Linked DNA regions of Homo sapiens: region 2 is linked to region 1. The links are contacts of gene promoters, found by promoter capture Hi-C in blood cells and fetal thymus (Javierre and others, 2016). All regions are on one chromosome and are shown on one strand. Each heading gives the region's core, a stretch centred on a gene start or on the middle of the fragment in contact. The rest is flanking DNA. Distances are from core to core; before and after follow the strand shown.

The links. The method cuts DNA at HindIII sites, captures the fragments that hold promoters and counts their contacts. A CHiCAGO score of 5 or more calls a contact.
Region 2: a fragment that was not itself captured here is called in contact with the fragment with the promoter of RBMS2 in region 1 in 1 of 17 cell types (endothelial precursors); the score reaches 7.5 in endothelial precursors.

What each region holds. Positions count from the first base shown.
Region 1 is chr12:56,518,250-56,523,097 of GRCh38, forward strand. RBMS2 (RNA binding motif single stranded interacting protein 2) reads left to right here and starts at 3,571. Exons shown (of 14, transcript NM_002898.4): 1 at 3,571-3,840. The coding sequence starts at 3,775. RefSeq lists an enhancer at 4,006-4,749. The HindIII fragment of the contact is 765 bases long and covers 3,318-4,082 here.
Region 2 is chr12:56,619,369-56,624,158 of GRCh38, forward strand. The region is part of intron 1 of BAZ2A (bromodomain adjacent to zinc finger domain 2A); the gene reads right to left. Among named protein-coding and RNA genes, the nearest start is that of BAZ2A, 8.6 kb to the right of the region's middle. The HindIII fragment of the contact is 1,417 bases long and covers 2,056-3,472 here.

The sequences.
Region 1 (4,848 bases), core at 2,321-4,820:
TTTGGTTGCCTGGGCTGGAGTACAGTGGCGCCATCTCAGCTCACTGCAGCCTCGACCTCCCAGGCTCAGATGGCTCTCCCAACTCAGCCTCCTGAGGAGTTGGGACTACAGATATGCACTACCATGCCTGGCTAGTTTTTTGTATTTTTAGCAGAAATGGGGTTTTGCCATGTTGCCCACATTGGTCTTGAACTCCTGGACTGAAGCAATCTGCCCACCTCAGCCTCCCAAAGTGCTGGGACATTTTTCAGCTACATTTTGGGGTTGACCTAGCCCCTACTCCTTCACCTTGGACACTTGTTTAAAAGAGTTGTTTTTCTGGAGAAATCACAAACAAGCCTATATTGAATCAGGTACAAATGTCTCTTCCCCAAAGAAGTTACAGATAACTCTCATTTTGCTTTTTTCCCTTCAAAACAATTCCTGAGTGCTGGGTTCATGAGAACCAAGAATTAGAGAGGCATTGACTAAATCTGGAAAAATGTGGGCAATGTAATGGGCAAAGCAGAAGGGCGTCAAAGTAAATACACTGGAGGAAGTAGGATTCTTCCTCCTCCCGTATACTTCCTGAATCTAACCACAGAACACCATTACCTTCCCCATCATTTCCACAGAATTCCATAACTCCTTTACAAATATACTCACCTGTAATGCCAGCAGTTTTGGAGACTGAGGTGGGCAAATTGCTTGAGCTGAGGAATTCAAGACCAGCCTGGGCAACATGATGAAACCCCGTCTCTACCAAAAAAAAAAAAATTACAAAAGTTAGCCAGGTGTGGTGGTGCATGCCTGTAGTCCCAGCTACAGGGTGGGGAGGGGTGGGATGGGTGTGAGGATCACCTGAACCTGGGGAAGTCAAAGCTGCCTGTTGTGAGCCGTGATTGTGCTACTGCACTCCAGCCTAGGTGACAGAGTGAGACCCTGTCATAAAAAAAAATATATGTTTATAATACATATACTCACCAGAATGAAGGATTTAGTTTCCAGTTTTGTTGGTGCTCTTTAACATAATACACCTTTGGCATCAGTTTGCATATCCGGGTCATTTTACTTCTGTGGTCCTAATTTACCAGATTATAAAAATTTAGATTTTTCGGTCGGGTGCCGTGGTTCACACCTGTAATCCCAGCACTTTGGGAGGCCAAGGCGGGTGGATTGCCTGAGGTCAGGAGTTCGAGACCAGACTGGCCAACATGGTGAAACCCCGTCTCCACTAAAAATACAAAAATTAGCTGGGCGTCGTGGCACATGCCTGTAGTACCAGCTACTCAGGAGGCTAAGGCGGGAGAATCGTTTGAACCCGGGAGGCAGAGGTTTCAGTGAGCCAAGATTGCACCACTGCACTCCAGCCTGGCGACAGAGTGAGACTCTGTCTCAGGGGGAAAAAAAAAAAGTAGAAAGAAAAATTAGACTTAAAAAAAAAGTTAAATTGGGTTGATTGCCTTTATGAATCAGGCCTTCAAGAGAAAGGTTTCTGTACCACATTGTTAGGGTAAAGGAGAAGATATCATCCAAGGGCCTAAACAGCAAGGATAAATTGGTTAATGAGAGTCTCTGAGAGCAGAAAAAGGACTTAAAAAAATATATATATATATATATATGGGCCGGGCGCGGTGGCTCACTCCTGTAATCCCAGCACTTTGGGAGGCCAAGGCGGGCAGATCACCTGAGGTCGGGAGTTTGAGACCAGTCTGGCCAACAAGACTACTAAAAATACAAAAAAATTAGCCGGGCATGGTGGCGCATGCCTATAGTCTCAGCTACTCGGGAGGCTGAGGCAGGAGAATCGCTTGAACCCGGGACGCAGAGGTTGCGGTGAGCCAAGATAGCACCACTGCACTCTAGCCTGGGCAACAGAGCAAGACTCTGTCTCAGAAAAAAAAAAAGATATCACTGAGTGATGCCTTCATTTATTTATTTACTGCATTTGGCTGCTGTGTTTCCAGTCTCAGTTGCAATTCCCACACTGAGGCTCTCCCACCCTTCCTGTGTCCCCTGAGCTGAGCAGGCACTTCCTGTCCTATTGGAAATGAAAGTTAGAGATTGGGGGTAGGGTATGTATATTTACTCTGCAGAATACTAATACTGTCTGTTCCATTATCATAGCAAAAAAGTGACACGGAAACTAGAATAGAGACCAGAACTTCATTTGAGGGAGGGTTTGGGCTTAATATTTGTTGTCACAAAACAGACAGGGTTAATTTATATCTCAAGAAACTACTTAGGATGGCAGCAAGGTGGCCTTATGAAGGGATTTGAAGGCTTTCATTTAACATCCCTATTGCACTTGGATTGGTAGGGGTTACTGGATATCATTCTTAAGTTTTTGGTTTCCTTTCTTGTTAAGGTTACGCCTACAAAGACATTCTTTGGAAACTAGTAGAGGTAAGTGTTGCAACTCTATTAGGTTCTTGACTCTGAAATTTGTATTCCTTCCTAAGAATTTTGTGTTTTTATTCTGTTGAAGCATATGCTTCTTAAGTATTTTTTTTTTTTAAACAGCTCAAAGACAACTCAAAGCAGACATCCCAACTGTAGACTTCAATTTAGACATAAACTCCAGGTTTGGTGAGTTACTGTAATTGTTTCAGTTTCATGGATCTTAAAGATGAGGAAATAGCAGGGTAAAGTGTTAAATAAGATAGCCTGCAATTGTTAGAGAAATAACAAGGCACCAAGTTTCATGATATAGTCCAGTCTGATAATTCCTTCTTAAGTATGAACTCATTCCTCGGAGAATCTGAAATAGGAGTGAGGGGCATCAGCCCATTGGTATGACCCAAGAGAAACACATCTAAGGATCTGAAACTAGTTATACCCCATACTCTGTTTTGCTTAGCTCTGCTCTTTGGTGTGTTCCTCTGTTTGTTCCTTTGTACATTAAGATCACTATAAATGGGCCAGGGGTGGTGGCTCATGCCTGTAATCCCAGCACTTTGGGAGGTTGAGTGGGTGGATCACTTGAGGTCAGGAGTTCGAGACCAGCCTGGCCAAGATGGCGAAACCCCGTCCCTACTAAAAAATACAAAAATCAGCTGGGTGTGGTGGTGGTCACCTGTAATCCCAGCTACTCGAGAGGCTGAGGCAGGAGAATTGCGGAAGGTGGAGGTTGCAGTGAGCCGGATCCGGGATTGCACCACTGCACTTCAGCCTGGGTGACAGACTAAAACTCTGTCTCAAAAAAAAAAAAAAAAAATCACTGTAAGTGTAAAGTAGGGGAAGCCCTGAGCTTATCTCACACACTCTAACTCTGTTTTTTTTTTTTTTTTTTTTTGCGTGTTCTCCAAGGCAATGTCTCAGGAGCCCCTTTAAAATCAAGCTTGAAATCTTATAGCTGAGATCTAAGGGTGGAAATAAAGCCCTCATTGTCTTTATATGAGAATCGGAACTTGTTCATAGAGGAAAGGGGATAAATTTGAAAGGGGTTAGACCTAAGAACTCTTCTTTCTAGCTTTAACTCCTGAGACTATGAAAAACAAACAAAAAAAAACATCTTGGGCATTAGGACCCAGTGGAAGTGCCTCTGCCTCATTCAGACTCTGTTAACTTCTCTCAGTGACGTAAAGGAGCAGCCCGAGCTCATTCTCTGCCCGCAGCCCCCCTTCATCTCTCTCCTCCTGCTCCTTTTCTCCTCCTTTCTCCTCCCCCTCCCTTTTTTCCTCCCTCCCTCTCCCCCTTTCCCTCGCTCCCCTCCTCCCTCCCTCCCCGTCTTTCTTACCCCCTCCCTTTCTCTCTCTCTCTCTCTCTCGCTCGTTCCCTAACATTAAAGAGAAAATGCTGCTATCCGTGACTTCCAGGCCCGGGATTTCGACTTTTGGCTACAATAGAAACAACAAGAAGGTAGGGAAAAGCGCTTTTTTGGTATCTAGCTACTTCTTTTTCTGGGGATCTTGCAATGCCCTTGGTTTTTACATTCTTTTTAAAGAGGGGAAGGGGCTTCCTCTCTCAAGATTCCTAATTCCTCACCGCGCTTCTCCCTTTTCCACTACTGCTTTCTGCATCTTTCCTCAACTGGTTCTGGAGTTCAGGGAACTTTCAGTCTCTGCGAGGCCTGAAAAGACAGGGGAATTAAAAACAAATCAAGCTTGCAAGTTTGTATCCTTATGAAATGAAGTTAGTTTGACTTCCTGCTGATGTATCAATCTCCACAAGGATAATATGTCATTTCAGACCCTGTCCCCCAGTCCACCCCACCCCACAAGATTATTTTATTTTTTGATTAACTGTTTCCATTCTCTCCCCAACCTTCCCTCCTACCCATACCACCAGTAGTATTAGATAGCTGAAATCATAGATAGTCAGAGAAACCACAACAGTTTATCAAGAGCTGGGTATACTCTTCTAGACTACAGATCCTACCCCACCCAGCCTATAGAGAAGGAGTCTTGAGAGACATCGCACCTTGGGATTAAGGCACAGAGCGCTGTGATACTTTGGATCTTGTATTTGAACTGATACTTGGACCTCTGCAGATAGCCAGACTTTGCAGTGATCCTAGGAGTCTTTATGATTAACCCATGGCTGCCAGAGAATTGTGCTGTCCTTGGGCACATGGGGAGAGATGGACAATCTTGTCCATATTTGACAAGGAATATATTTGGCAGTTTCTGGCATTTCAGGGCGCACAGCATACTGATTAGGAGGAATTTCATGCTGTAGCAGGAAGAAGACTCTTTACCCTCTCTTTGTGTTGTAGCTGTTCTTTGAAGAAAAAATGTGACATAGACATTTAGGGAATCTTTTGCTCATCTAATGGAATGTTGGAGGGTGAGGAACGATTCCTGCTGCTTTCTCATGTACCTAATGAGACCATTAGAGGTGGATTTAAACACAAGTGTCTGATCAATG
Region 2 (4,790 bases), core at 1,514-4,013, 100 kb after region 1:
GTGGTGGGGCACACCTGTGGTCCTAGCTTACTCGAGAGGCTAAGGCAGAAGGATCACTTGAGCCCAGGAGGTCGAGGCTGCAGTGAACCATGATCATGCCACTGCACTCCAGCCTAGGTGACAGAGCATGACCCTGTCTCAAAAAAAAAAAAAAAAAAGAAAAGAAAAGAATATATATGCCCACTGGCCAAAGTCTGCAAGAGTTACATTCATAAATATGCTACATTACTAAAATTAGACACCATTAGTATAAATGTGAATATAACATAAGTCTGAGCATGATATATAAACCCTGCATAGTATGTGGGAATTGTCTGTATCTTAATCAATTTTAACTGAAATTTTAAAAATAAAAATAGGCCAAGCATGGTGGCTCATGCCTGTAATCCTAGTGCTCCAGGAGGCTGAAGCAGGAAGATCACTTGAGGTCAGGAGATCAAGACCAGCTTGGGAAACATAGCAAGGCTCTGTCTCCACAAAAAATAAAAAAGTTAGCTGAGCATGGTGGTTCCTGCCTGTAGTCTCAGTTGCTCAGGAGGATGAGGCAGGAAGATTACTTGAGCCCAAAAGTGCAAGTCCAGCCTATGCACCATAGCAAGACCCCATCTCTAAAAACTAAAAGCAATGTGCATTTGTTGATTTAAGGGAAAAAGTTTTTAGGACTTACTTATCTCCCATATAGGATATCTCATCTTTAGTCTAAATAGGGGTGTCCAATCTTTTGGCTTCCCTGGACCACACTGGAAGAAGTGTCTTGGGCCACACATAAAATACACTAATGAGAGCTGATGAGCTTTAAAAAAAAAAAAAAAATCACAAGAAAATCTCCATGTTATCTTTTAAGAAAGTTTACAAATTGGTATTGGGCCAGATTCAAAGTTGTCCTGGGTGGGCTGGACAAGCTTGCTCTAAATTAAGTAGCAGACCTAAACCTGCCATGCATCAGTGAAAAAATGGAGTCTTTATAGTGAAAAGACCCCAGGTTAGCCAGGCATGATGGTGAGCAGCTGCAGTCCCAGCCACTTGGGAGGCTGAGGCAGGAGGATTGTTTGAGCCTGGGAAGCAGAGATTGCAGTGAGCCAAGATCATGCCACTGCATTCCAGCCTGGGTGACAGAGCGAAACCCTGTCTCAAAAAAACAAAACAAAACAAAACAAACAAACAAACAAAACACACAGGGTCCTCCAGGATTTCCTTTTTTTTTTTTTGAGACAGAGTTTCCCTCTTGTTGCCCATGCTGGGGTGCAAGGGTGTGATCTCGGCTCACTGCAACCTCCACCTCCCAGGTTCAAGCGATTCTCCTGCCTCAGCCTCCCCAGCAGCTGGGATTACAGGCACCCGCCAACACGCCCAGATAATTTTTTATCTTTTTAGTAGAGACGGGGTTACACCATGTTGGCCAGGCTGGTCTTGAATTCCTGACCTCAAGTGATCGACCCACCGCGGCCTCCCAATGTGCTGGGATTACAGCCATGAGCCACTGCGCCCAGTCAGGATTTCCCTAGTATAGTTAACAGCTACTCCTCAGCAGTAGGGGGTCTGAAAGATAAGCATCATGAGATTAATAATCCTTCTTAAGTGCAAGAATTAAAGGAAAGTTCATTCCTTAGTCTCCAGTTAGGTTCCTTCCAAAGCTTATACCACAGAGCAAGGAGGACACTCTTCACTTCAGAAGTCCTGGAAATACTATGCCTAGAGGGCCAATTTCATCTGATCCTCACCTCTCCTCTCCCCAGTTTTTTGTACACCTCCCCTGGTGTGGAGGATACATGCAACTTCCATCCTATGTGCAGTGGACTATATCCTCCTCAATGATGGGTCACGGTTCATTTTTCCATTCTCTATTTGAATCCAAGAACAAAGTTGTGACCTCCTCTCTGCTGCTCTGGAAAAGCACAGCATATCCTGTTTTTGTAAATATTAATAACAACATGTCGATGGCTCACAGAAATCAGAGAATTAAAAAGAATGGGAAGTTATTTAGTATGTGAGATCAGTTTCTCCACCTGTCTCTTCTGAACTGTCATCAGAACCACAACCACTTCATTTACGAGAAGCTTCCTAGACACATAAAATTGTCTTTGTGCTATGCAATGTGGTCAGCACAATGTAGTGGGCTCTAGGTTCAAATCCCAACTCTACTATTTACTAGCTAGCTGTTTAACCTTGGACAAGTTACTTATACTTGCTGGGCCTAAGTTTCATCATCTGTAACAATTTTTGTACCCACTTTTAAGGACTGGTGAGGATGAAATGAGAAAATCTAAATTAGAGCCCCAGCACAGTGTCTGTCATCCAGCAAGCACTCCATAAACGTTAGTTTTTTTTTTTTCTTCTTGAGACAGAGTCTCACTCTGTCATCCAGAGTGGTGTGCAGTGGCATGATCATAGCTCACTGCAGCCTGGAACTCCTGGGCTCCAGTAATCCTCCTGCCTCAGCTTCCCAAGTAGCTAGGACTACAGGTGCTCACCACCACACCTGGCTAATTTTTAAATTTTTTTGTAGACACAGGGTCTCGCTATGTTGCCCATGATGGTCTCAAATTCCTGGCCTCAAGCAATTCTCCCACCTTGACCTCCCAAAGTGCTGGGATTACAGGCGTGAGCCACCTTACCAGGACTACATTAGCTACTATTATTAGACAAACAGTAAAAGACTGTGTAGTTTTCAAAAAGATAATCAGGCCTGGCCAGGCGCAGTGGTTCACGCCTGTAATCCCAGCACTTTGGGAGGCCAAGGTGGGTGGATCACCTGAAGTCAAGAGTTCGAAACCAGCCTGGCCAACATGGCGAAACCCCATCTCTATTAAAATTACAAAAAATTAGCTGGGCGTGGTGGCGGGCACCTGTAATCCCAGCTACTCAGGAGGCTGAGGCAGGAGAATTGCTTGAATCCAGGAGATGGAGGTTGCAGTGAGCTGAGATCGCACCATTGCACTCTAGCCTGGGTGACAGAGCAACACTCTATCTCCAAAAAAAAAAGATAATCAGGTCTAAACGGTCTACATATAAAATAAATATAATTTAAAACTAGGGATGATCCAGCCAGACTTCCTTATATACAATTTGACTCCTGATTTCAGATGTCACTTAAATATGGGAATTAATTATGTCACAGTATGGGAATACGAAAAACATGTGAACACCTCCTCTCAACAATGAACCTAGGTTTATTTCATTTTAACCTTCCTACTCAAGATGCTTTTCACAATAAACCCTAAAGGTAAACTCTGTCCTCCCATCCAGAGCTAGTAAGAACAGTAAAGCAAAGGAGAGCATCTCCCTTTGAACTAATAGGATTTTCACCAAATGAGAAAAGAAATCAGCCAGTGCCCAACCCCTAGAGTAGCAGATGACTCTCATACCAGGAAGTACATTCATTCAAGCACCCAGCCCAGTCCCAGCTATACATAAATGGATCTTTTAAGAGCTCCTATGTTTCATTTATAAGAGTAAGGGACATTGCCCTATAAGCTTGAAGCAATAAAGCCCTCCCCACAGGGCCGAATAGGTTGCTTTTCTCCCAGTTCCAATCAAAGAGCTGCTACTCTGTGGGCCTGTGACATGGTTTAATAGAAAAAGGCTGACAACACCAAGAGCAGTGGCTCGTGTAATCCCAGCACTTTGGGAGGCCGAGGTGAGCGGATCACGAGGTCAAGAGATCGAGACCATCCTGGCTAACACGGTGAAACCCTGTCTCTACTAAAAATAGAAAAAATTAGCCAGGCGTGGTGGCGGGCACCTGTAGTCCTACCTACTCGGGAGGCTGAGGCAGGAGAATGGCGTGAACCCGGGAGGTGGAGGTTGCAGTGAGCCGAGATCGCGTCACTGCACTCCAGTCTGGGCGACAGAGCGAGACTCCATCTCAAAAAAAAAAAAGAAAAAGGCTGACAATGCACAAAGTGTTGAAATAAATATTATATATTGCAACACTGTTACAGGTGTCCTCCCTGACCAATTCTAACCCTCCAGCCTCTGAGGCTACCCCCCAGGACAACAAGACACATTAACACCCTCCAGCTGGATACTGCAGTGGTCCCTGCAGCTCTTGGGTTCATTCTTCTCATGTAGTACATCAAAATCTCACAAATGGGGTTGGGGGGTGAGAGAGATTTCAAATGTTTATCTTGACTAAACAGCAAAGGCAAATTCTAGAGTAAAAATCACACCACTACATTTTAGCTTTGTAATTGTGAACATCATGAAGGATATTTCTTAACTCTACACATCTCTGGATTACCCACCACACTCTAATACAGAGGTTCTCATCAGGGGCAATTCTGCCCCGTAGGGGACATTTAGTAATCTCTGAAGGTATGTGCTACTGGCATCTAGTAAGCAGAAGCCAAAGATGCTGCTAGGCGTCCTTCAACAAACAGGACAGCGCCCCCCACAACGAAGATATTATCTGGCCCACGTTATCAATAGTGCCAAGGCTGAGAAACCCTGTTCTAATGTAAAAGCTGTCCCATTCCTGCCCCACACCTTGGGAAAGTTCCAAGTTTTCACTGTTCCCAGTTCCTGACACTGCAAATGAGGACGCTTTGGCTTTTGTATCTAAAAACCTCATCTCCCTGGCTAAGCCATGTTCCTCCACCAATAAGAGTTCCATGTAGGCTGGGAGAGGTGGCTCATGCCTATAACCTCAGCAGGATCACTTGAGGCCAGGAATTCAAGACTGGCCTGCGCAACACAGTGAGACCCTATCTCTACACTAAAAAAAAAAAAAAAATTCCAAGTACCAAGCCACAGAATAAATATGCCCTCTTCTCCAATCACGATAACCCATT